3 separate regions of the Homo sapiens genome follow, and all the other regions are linked to region 1. Evidence: promoter capture Hi-C in 16 types of primary human blood cells and fetal thymus (Javierre and others, 2016). All regions are on one chromosome and are shown on one strand. The core of a region is centred on a gene start or on the middle of the fragment in contact, and the rest is flanking DNA. Distances in the headings are between cores, read along the strand shown. Region 1 holds the start of NFE2L3 (NFE2 like bZIP transcription factor 3). Region 2 has its middle 55 kb from the start of MIR148A. Region 3 has its middle 69 kb from the start of LINC03007.

Region 1 (3,499 bases), core at 590-3,089:
GTTCCCAGTCTATTCAGATTTCTCAAAATACATCTCAAGTGTAACCTCCTCAATTCAACTAATATTTTTTTTGAGCATCAACTGTGTGTAAGATTCTGGAGGGCACCGCCTTGAAGAAGGCACCGCCTCTACTCTCAATAGTTTTAGAGCTCCCTATATAAACCTTGAAGTAATTTACATCTAAGTATTTTGGCAATTGAGTACATTATTTCTCTTGTTTCTTAGTGTCTCACAAATTTTTATCTCATCTCCCTAGTAAAACCATAAGCTTACGGAAGGAAAGAACTCCGTTTCATATCCTTCATGCCTCCAGCACAGCCTCAGGCAGTTAGTAGGTTCTCAGTAAAAAGCTGAAGGCAGCATTTACTAAGCTGAGACTCTAAATCCGCTGTTCAAAGACTAAATGCTGTGAACGGGGTCTTGATAACCTGGCAATCACCTTTCTTCATCCTCTTTGCCACCCCAACCCATCTTCCAAGGCTTAACACAGAGGAAGCAACTTTCCTCTGCTCCCCTGTTTCTGCTCCCCTGGTCCCCATTCTTTTCTCTTCTTACTACACTAGCCCAGGAGAGAGATGAGAAAGCCAGGTGGAGGGAGGGGCCTTTTAAAACAAGTCTTGCTCAACTTTTTACACAACTGCCCATTCTCAGTTGGGCATCCCCTCCTGTCCCCTTTTCTTCCAAGGAAGGGAGCTAAGGTTAGTAAAACCTACCCTTGCAAGGCCCAGTGCTGGGTACTGTGCATGGACAAAGGTGAACCAAACAGGTTCCTTGTCCTCAAGAATTTACAATGGGCAAATCAGACCGATTCTCATCTACAACACAGAGTTGAATGGGCCAACTGTTACAATGTTGGCAAACGGAGAAATCACGGTGCAACAGATGGGGGAGAGATTAATGCCAACTGGTGAAAATTCAGAGGATGTAGCTTTGGAGCTAAGCCTTGAGGGTGAGTAACACAAACAATGGGTAGCAGGGAGCACTTCCTACCCATGCAGTGCTGTGGTCGGTGGTTTACATGCATTATCTCATTTGGGGCTCACAAAAGGTCTGCTGGGGAGGTGCTATTATTAGTCTCATTTTACAGTGAGAAAACTGAGGCACAGAGAAAAGGAGAGATTTGTCCAAGGTCGCCCCTCAAGTGGAGGGGGGACTTGAACTCACTCAGGGTAACTGTAGAGCTGGTGCTGTCAACCCTCAAGGAAACAACGGATAAGGAGCAAAGGATACCGAGAGGAGGTCTAGCACTATGCAGAGCACGCCCAGAGAAGAGAGAGGGGTCTGTGAGGCTGGGACTGGGGTGTGCGGAGTGGTGGGATGACTGATCCCAATGGCAACGGTGGAATTTATATGTGAAACTCCGAACTTTACACGAAATATTTCATCTGACCTCAACACATCCCTGTTTGACAGGCTCTATGATCCCCATTTTACAGATAGCGGAACTGAGACAGAGAGGTTACTCTTGCCCACTCTGCCCGCCAAGTGTCCTCACGTTGGGGTGGAAGCCCGTTGCAAGCTGCCAGGCCCCTCGTAGCTGCCCAGTCACTCTCCGCCCAGTCTACACATCCTGTCCCTTCCCACCCAGCTACCCACCACCTAGCCCTCCACCCCAACTCCCGCCCTTGGCTTTCAGCAAGGATGGCCCAGCTCACGGCCACAGGGTGGCAAGGGGCCACTTGGTGCCCAGAACAACTTCTGCTCCCAGAAAGCCTTGCGTTCCCCGGACATAAAGAGGCTTTGAGCTCGGGGAGCCCCGCCCCGTGCGGCCCCTCCCACGGGCGCGGGCCCCGGGCGGCAGGGGGCGTGTTCCTGTCGGCTGCGCCCGCGGCCGGGGGCGGAGCTTGGCCACCGCGCCGGGCTGCGGGCGGCTGGGCGAACGGGCTCGGCGCTCAGGTGGCTCCTTCTTCGCTTCTCCCGATCCCCGGCGGTGCCAGGCACGGTGCCGGCTGCCGAGGGAACGCCTTTGTGCCCGGTGCTGGGAACCCGCGACGGCCGCCACGCGCCCCGGTCCATTGTTTCGCTTATCTGGGTTCCAGGCAGGTGCGGGCGGCGCGCGGGGTCCGCACGTGTCACCCCGGCGGCTGGGGCGCCGGGACCCGCGGGCGCCGGCAGGGGCGTTCCCGGGCGCGCGGCGGCGATGAAGCACCTGAAGCGGTGGTGGTCGGCCGGCGGCGGCCTCCTGCACCTCACCCTCCTGCTGAGCTTGGCGGGGCTCCGCGTAGACCTAGATCTTTACCTGCTGCTGCCGCCGCCCACCCTGCTGCAGGACGAGCTGCTGTTCCTGGGCGGCCCGGCCAGCTCCGCCTACGCGCTCAGCCCCTTCTCGGCCTCGGGAGGGTGGGGGCGCGCGGGCCACTTGCACCCCAAGGGCCGGGAGCTGGACCCTGCCGCGCCGCCCGAGGGCCAGCTGCTCCGGGAGGTGCGCGCGCTCGGGGTCCCCTTCGTCCCTCGCACCAGCGTGGATGCATGGCTGGTGCACAGCGTGGCTGCCGGGAGCGCGGACGAGGCCCACGGGCTGCTCGGCGCCGCCGCCGCCTCGTCCACCGGAGGAGCCGGCGCCAGCGTGGACGGCGGCAGCCAGGCTGTGCAGGGGGGCGGCGGGGACCCCCGAGCGGCTCGGAGTGGCCCCTTGGACGCCGGGGAAGAGGAGAAGGCACCCGCGGAACCGACGGCTCAGGTGCCGGACGCTGGCGGATGTGCGAGCGAGGTAGGTGCAGAGCGGGAAGCGAGCGAAGTGCGGCGTCTACGCCGCCGGGAGCCCCCGAGGCTTGTGTCGGATCTGAGCAGGGGCCACTCTCGCTGTGTCCTGGCACCCTTAGCCCCTGGTCTTTGCAGGTTCGCAGATGCTGCTGCTCTGATTCCGAATGAAGGGCTACTAGTGCTGTCGCTGTGGTTTTTAGGTGTTTAAGGAAGAAGTGGACGAAATCATCCGTTTGGTTATAGAGAATACCTTTCCTTGTGTGTGATGGCTGGCAAGAGTAGTTCGGGGATGGGGAGGGGAGAAGCAATGCCCACTGTCTTCGCTCAGTACCTCATGTACACTGGGGTGTCGTTCTCTGGGACCCGTGCCCGACCTGGACGATGTGAAGGAGGCCGTGACCTCTGGGAGGATGCATGTTTTTAAGAACGACTCTCCCGGCCTAACGCAAGGACCTTCGCCCTGTTTTCAGCCCAATTGCTGTTCGTTTTTGCTGCTTCCCTGGATTAAGGAGCCATGGTCAGGGTCTATTCAGAGGCCAGCCGGCAGGCGGTCCCCCTGTGACCTAACCATCCCCTGCACCTAGCAATCCTCCTTCCTGGAATTTGTGTAACCTCTTATTAGCATAACGAAAACAGGTACCTTGGCAGTCACTTAGTGACTAACAAGTTCCCTTTGGTTTATGGGTCCAAACCCTTCTCTGGCTTAACTTCTTTCTGAAACCAAGTTTACCAAGATCTGTTGCTTGAAACATCTGGTGCTCCCCATGGAACGTTTGAGTTCAGTCTAATGACACTT
Region 2 (3,444 bases), core at 829-3,328, 260 kb before region 1:
TTTTAAATCTTATACCAGGGTTAATATAAAATTATTTTTACATTGTGCTGGTAACCCATTTGAAAAAAGGCCTGAAAGAAAGTAGTCCCAGCTTCCTGCGTCCCCCACTTCCCCTCCAAATCAGCCAGGGCCCCAAAGTCCCGGACTCAAATAAATCAAGATTATGCTAATAACTAGAGCTAGGTGCAATGGCAGACTTTGACAATTCCAGGCAAAAGACACCAGAGGGCACTACAGGACCACGTTTTGTAATTTCAGGCGCCATTTTACCCTTGGATTTGAACAATAATTTCTTAAAAAACTGTTAACCTTCTGAGATCCGTATGTGGATTTATTTATTGCTTTCAATATCTTATCGCCACTAAGCTTAACTAGCTAGGCTTGGAAGGTTATTTTAAAGGACAATGCCCTAAAAAGGCAGACACAATTGGGCTTCCTCTTTATTTTACCTTCCTATAGAATGTCGGCATGTGTATGAGCGTGTATGAGCGTGTGTGTGTGTGTGTGTGTGTGTGTGTGTGTGTGTGTGTGTGTTTAGCAAACATTTATGATTGAAGAAACCATTCAGGGAATCCAAAAACTAAAATGCAGGATTCCACTGCCTCCCCTCCACCCACCCCGCAAAAAAAAAAAAAAAAAAGTGACGTTTCAGGCCAAAAAATTGTTTTCGTTGTTATTACTTCTGTAACTGTCTTCAATCACCTATTAATTTAACCAGCAAATATTTATTGAAGCCCCTAATGTGCCAGTCCCTGGGCACACCATGATACCTGAGCCACATCTCACCCTGCAGGGTCTCACCCATGATGAGAAGGCAGTTCTCTTTACTCCTGTCAGCCAGATTTAGTCTTAGAGCATCAATATCCATAAGTGAAAAGTGACACTTCAGCTTAGATTATTTCTCTTTTCACTGCCCTTCAGAAAAATTTTTTTTTTTTTCAGAAGAAAATAGGATTTTAAAATCACTGCTTTCTAGATGTGACCATCTCAGCCTGAGCAAGAAGGATCAAAACTCTCTTGCTGGAACTGCCTTCTCAGTGACTGAATTTTTATGAATCAAATAAAATGGTTGCTTGTGGGTTTGGGGAATGCTTTTTTTCCTTCCAAAGTCCCATATTGATTAGAATGAACTACATCGAAATTTAACAAGTGACAGAAGAAAGTGCCACCACTCTTGGCGTCTAATGAAGCTGTTGGGCAGTGCTGCCATCCAGAGTGGGGGAAATGGGACACAGGAAGTCTGTTTCCTCCTCCCCCAACAATACTCCCAGCCCCATTGGTTTGTACAAACAAACATGTGAGACCACGTGGTAACATAGACAAGTTACATTCCTTACCTCAGGTAATACCCACAAGATAGCCCCATTTACCAGCTGAGCAAACTGAGGCTAAAGGTTACTTCTTTGCCCAAGGTCACACTGCCAATATCCAAACCCAAGTCTGTCCACCTCCAAAGATCATGTGCCTTCTGCTACCCAGTGTAAATAACCCAAAAGAACTCAAAGACTGTTTTCTTTGAAGATAGGTGAGGCAGACACTGCTGTGTGCTTGCCCCGAGCCATCCTATCTGCTTCCTGTGCACACAGCTGGACTACATTTCCCAGCTCCCCTTGGGGGAAGGTTGGCCCTGAGAGTGGCGTCTAGCTAGTGGAATGTGAGTGGCAGTGAGGCCTGCCCACCTCCTGCACAGTCCTTCATTCTCTCTCTCTACCTGTCACAGCCAGATGCAGAGTACTCAGCAGCAAACATTAAGGCCCTTAGGGATGGTGGGGCCACAGAATGAAAGGTGCCTGGGTCCCTGAATCACTGCATGGAAGCTGTCCAAGAAACGCTTTCAGTGGTCCAAGAGCAAGAAATAACTTGTTTTGTGTTAAGCCACTGTGACACGGGGTTGCTTGTTAAACAGTTAGCCTTTGATACATAATACACAAGGAAAGAAAATGGCTTCTGTGAAGGTGTCCATTTGCCCACCAGGGGACTTGCCTAGTTCTGTGGTGGTGAATTTGTTCACAATTTCCCTGGGCGTCAGGAAAAGAAGACATTGAGCTAAGTGATCTCTAAGGTCTTTCCCCGACCTGAGAAAAGCCTGTGGTTCTGTGGTTCCCCTCTCTCACCCGCCGGATCCCGTCTCCCACCACTCATATCTGCAGGGGCCAGCTAAGTTACCTGGACCAGGAGGGACTTAGCCCAAACTCCTACCCACCCAGGAGTCTTCCTTCCCACATAACACCTTCCCTGTACTCTGCTGGGCAGCTATACACAGATATGCCCCCTCGGCAGTGGCAGCAATATGTAAGATGCCCCGGCAGGAGGACGGGGGGCTTCACATGGCCTTGTGCCACCTGTCCCAACTTTCCCTGCCCCCTGTGTAGCCTGTGTGGGAAGATGAGCACCTTCCTCCAAGAAAAAGGCTGGGTATAGACCAAGACCTGGAAAACTGCTGGGTATCCGAAGAGTGAATATGAGGAATTCTGCTCTTTGAAAGCACTGCTTCTTCGACTGATGTCACTAACATCCATGAAATATCATCCTTAAGCTATTTTAAGTCTACCTCCAGTGACTCATGGGATCTCCTTTTCTGTCACTGAACGTGATGTGCTCAAAATGAAGATAATGTTAATATAGGGAAAAGCAGAACTGAGAGTTTTAATGACACAGACTCCTGGCCAGATCAGGAAAGGAGGGTGTAGTTCGCGGCATTTGTGATTCCGGCTGGGTCTCCGGTGCGGAAATGAAACTCGCCCCCTGCTGGCCCGCCCCGGCGCTTTCAGAGGGAAGGGGAGCCAGGACGCCCGCGGGGATGGCTGCCCAGCTGCGAGTCACACACGAGCGTCGCCCACGCCCGGCGCCCCCGCACTGCCCATGATAGGGACCTACTGAATTGGATACTAGTGGTGTTTCTGGAAAAATCAGGGAGGATTGAGACCTGGGTTTTCGAGTGACAAATTGGTGATGCAGATGAAAAATGCAGGACCCAGTTGCATATGGTGGCAGTCTTTGGCTGCCTGGAGAGAAAGAGAGAGAGAGACCGCGCGCTCACTATCAATATGATTAACTATTATAGTGCGCAGTGTTTGGGGCTATCCATTCCTTTTCCTCCTTCTTCTATCACAGATTCCTCCCTCTCTGATTTCAGAAGGAGGAGTTAGGGAGGGTCGGGTAAGTGCCTGACCTAGGCCACTCAGCATCCCCCTTCCTCCACCAGAGTCCTTGGCCAACTAAAAACCATTCCTGGGAATCTTCTGCGGAACCCTGCCCCTCTACCCTCCAGCCTGCCAAGCCTTTTTTCTGTCCCCTGCAAACTAAAGAATCCTGACTACCAAAGCTATTGATGGTTCCCACAATATGTATTGTTTGAATCCACTAGCACCTGACACAACCCAAATTATGAATTACCATAATTACCAAGGGTAAAACCCAAGGTTAATGATGAAACAAATTAGT
Region 3 (3,225 bases), core at 644-3,143, 290 kb before region 1:
AGGAGCCTCTCAGGAAGGTGTTGCAACCTTTGGTTGTACCAGAAGGAAATAAGCAAACTCCCATCACCCCCACCCCCATTCCCCGCCCTAACACGGAGTAAACTTCGGCCTTTTTCCGCTTGGATGCTCATTAAGAGTTAGTTGACTTTGTAGCGGATGCAATAAAATTTGGATGGTTTCAGGCCCCCAAACAATCCTGGTTTCTGTTTTCCTCTCTCCCTAGGCACACCCCCAAGGAAATTGCCTTTTCAGCAGGCGCCTGCGGGAAAGAACCGCAGGAGACAGATTCCCTTTAGAGATCTGCATGGGGAGGAGGGAGATATGGAAATAAAGAGGGCCAAGGTAAGAGGACGGAGAGGCCATAGAGGACTTGCATGTTTGGGTGTGAGTTTTCTGGCCAACTAGGGGGAAAATCCACAAACCTGAGGTATCTGGTGGATGCGCTGAAAAATTAGCTCTCACCTGCAGAGTTACTCAACCCTCGTGCGCTTCTGCTCTGCCGGGAAGGGCCAGTCTCCGAGGGCGGAATAAGTATGGGTATTGAAAGGCAAGTAGGAAACAGCAAAAGAAAAGAACAGATACAAATTTTCTACTCCCGACCTCCAAACCAAAATCGCACTTTCAAACGTAAAACGCAATTCCAAGAAGACTGGGATGTAGGGAGTATGCGATGCCTCTGTTCAATAGGTCACTGTCAGGAACTTCAGTTTCTGGTGTTCAGATATTTGTATTTGAAATTAAGAAAATCAACGCAGGAGGGGTTGCTGGAGGATAAAGTGGGGTGACGAGAGACCGAAGGAGGGGGAGGAGGAGAGGGGTAGAAGGAACCAAGAACCATCTGATGGCAGAACTGGGCTGAAGGAAAACAAAACCGTGAACTTCAAAGCTCAGGCCTAATCTCCCTCAGGTTAATTTCTGCTTCCTAAAAAGTTTGATCAGGGTCATAAATCACTCGGTCCACCCTTGCCGGTCCTGCCTGGTTCCCCAAGGTTCTCTCCCCGCAGCCCGCTGCAGGGGCGCAGGGTGAGTCTCCAGCCCAAGACCGTCTGAGGCTTCCCGGGGCAGGAGGGCTCCCGGGGCTGAGTGGGCGCACGGATGCGCGAGAATCCGCGTGCGGGGGAAGCGGGGAGGCGAGGGTCTAGGGAAGGTGCTGGCAGTGTTGCGGGCCAGACTGTGGAGAGATCCCGTGCAGATGCAGTTTCCATTCCGTCCGGCCTCAAAAAAAAAAAAAAAACCTTCAAGTGTGTCTGGCGTGCTGTTTGAAGAAGGTTACAGCGTGTTTAGAGATTTGCAAAGCTCTGCCGAGCAGTAAAGATTAGAAAGGCCTGCCTGAGATTTGTCAAATGACTTCCGGTAGCAGAGCCCCCAGTAAACAGGGAGGGCCCGGCAGCCTCAGATCTTGGCTCGGTCGGGGCCTGTAACTCCAGGCTGCACGGCGCGGAATTGGTACGGCCGCACCAGGCGCGCTGCGAGGAGGATGGGCCTGGCCGGGGACCCGTGGAGGATCCGCCTCCAGTCCCGAGGAGGTCCCCGTTTTGTGGCTGTAGTGATGTGGCGTAAAAGTCAAGTCGTGGACTTTTCTATTGGCCTTTCCGTGCAGGAAGCCCTAGATGTAGACCAAGCACTAATTTGGTGAATTTGTAGACCAACTTGACTGAAAGGCTCGGGGAAATGTCACCTAGATGAGTCTGACCCTCCCTAAATGAAAGCCATCTTGGAGGAGGCCAGGGAGTGAAATGGCTGGGGAAGGCCCGGCAGGTCTTCATCATAAGAGTCCACGTTTCTCAGCAGTAACGATAATATTTTAAAACAAAGCAAAACAACATTGTCAAAAAATCTAGGAGACAGTGATCACTGCGGTCAGGGGCGCTTAGTGGGCCGCAGCTCATAGGAATGCTGGGGTTTCCCAGATTCTTCCCAGACGGGCATCGCTTTCCTCTAGGAATGACAGTTTCCGCCTTGGCTCGCCTCAGAGGTGCGCATCAGAGCCAGCTCAGGAAGCCACTACCTGTCACAAAACCGACCACACCATTCTGGTTTACACGGAGCATATAGCTTGGGGTTACCCAGCTAAAATAAATAACTGAAGGGAAATTGTTGGTCAAGAAAAACAAAAGGAAAAATATATAATAAAAGGGGTATCTATTGTTGGACGTGAGACGGGTCCCTCTACACACGGGAAGACGAGGCAGAGGAGATGTTGTTAATGCCCCTGGGTATTAGATACAAAGAAGCACAAAAAAAGAAAAAGAGAAAGGAAAAGAAAAAGGAAGGAAGGAAGGAAAGAAGGAAGGAAGGGAGGAAGGAAGGGAGGAAGGAAGGTAGGTCAAGCCTTCTAGAATTTGTTACCCTAGATGAATAATTACTTAGACTCACACACGCAGATGTTTTTTCTGTGAGAAAGAGATTAATATGGTCTGTCCGTAATGTGACATACACACACAGGGGTTGTATTTCCATGTTTTAAAACACAAAACAACTAAAGTTGATCAGTGAGGGACATGTTTTTAACGGTTTAAATGTTTTATGATGGACCAGTAAAAGCAGAGTTAAATTTCAAGACATAATTGACTGGAGATTTGATTATTTCCCCCCATTTCTGAGGGGGAAATAATCCCTTTCCCAAAATAAAGTTATACCATTGATAAAAATAGCGCAGAGGACCGTGAGAGTTAAATAAAGCAGAAAAAAAAAAGACTATGTGTTGCATTGAGGCAAAAATAACGAAATTCAAAGGCAAATTAAAATAAAGCAATGAGGATTTATCTGAGGAACCGCCACGGGCAGAGGAGCAACATCTGTCCCAGATGTCAGACTTCCCTGCAACTTGATCCATGCGTTTCCACTTTGGTTTCTGAACCGAAGGAGGAGTGCCGGCAAGGGAGCGCCCGCAGTCCTGCGGTACAGGGCTGGCGCAGCCTCTGAGTGCGTGTGTGAACTCTGCCAGGAAGCTGTGAGAGCCAGCCCAGGATTCAGTGACCCTGTTTCCCAACCCACAAGGACAAGTACATGGTTTTCTCTCTTATCAATTCCAGCCCCGCGCAACCAAGTGAAAGCAAATGCACTGGACCGCTTCGGAATTAAAATGAATTGCTAAAACCACGGACCGCTCTGTCCGGGGCCCAGACCTGTCTCAACTCGTGGTATTTACATTCCTAGAGCCCGTGCGGAGGAACACGTCGAGGCACGGGTGGCCGCAGCACCCGGCCTCCAGGCCTAGAGTGA

What was found. The method cuts DNA at HindIII sites, captures the fragments that hold promoters and counts their contacts. A CHiCAGO score of 5 or more calls a contact.
Region 2: a fragment that was not itself captured here is called in contact with the fragment with the promoter of NFE2L3 in region 1 in 16 of 17 cell types (megakaryocytes, fetal thymus, M2 macrophages and 13 more); the score reaches 16.3 in megakaryocytes.
Region 3: a fragment that was not itself captured here is called in contact with the fragment with the promoter of NFE2L3 in region 1 in 2 of 17 cell types (fetal thymus and non-activated CD4 T cells); the score reaches 7.9 in fetal thymus.

Annotation. Positions count from the first base shown.
Region 1 is chr7:26,150,359-26,153,857 of GRCh38, forward strand. It overlaps NFE2L3 (NFE2 like bZIP transcription factor 3), which reads left to right and starts at 1,840. Exons shown (of 4, transcript NM_004289.7): 1 at 1,840-2,710. The coding sequence starts at 2,141. RefSeq lists silencers at 1,629-2,008, 2,029-2,098, 2,109-2,178, 2,289-2,538, 2,549-2,618 and enhancers at 1,800-2,594, 2,595-3,388, 2,739-2,928. The HindIII fragment of the contact is 3,470 bases long and covers 267-3,499 here.
Region 2 is chr7:25,892,788-25,896,231 of GRCh38, forward strand. No RefSeq gene overlaps it. Among named protein-coding and RNA genes, the nearest start is that of MIR148A, 55 kb to the right of the region's middle. RefSeq lists enhancers at 200-279, 2,473-2,562. The HindIII fragment of the contact is 3,429 bases long and covers 365-3,444 here.
Region 3 is chr7:25,857,619-25,860,843 of GRCh38, forward strand. No RefSeq gene overlaps it. Among named protein-coding and RNA genes, the nearest start is that of LINC03007, 69 kb to the left of the region's middle. The HindIII fragment of the contact is 9,868 bases long and covers 1-3,225 here.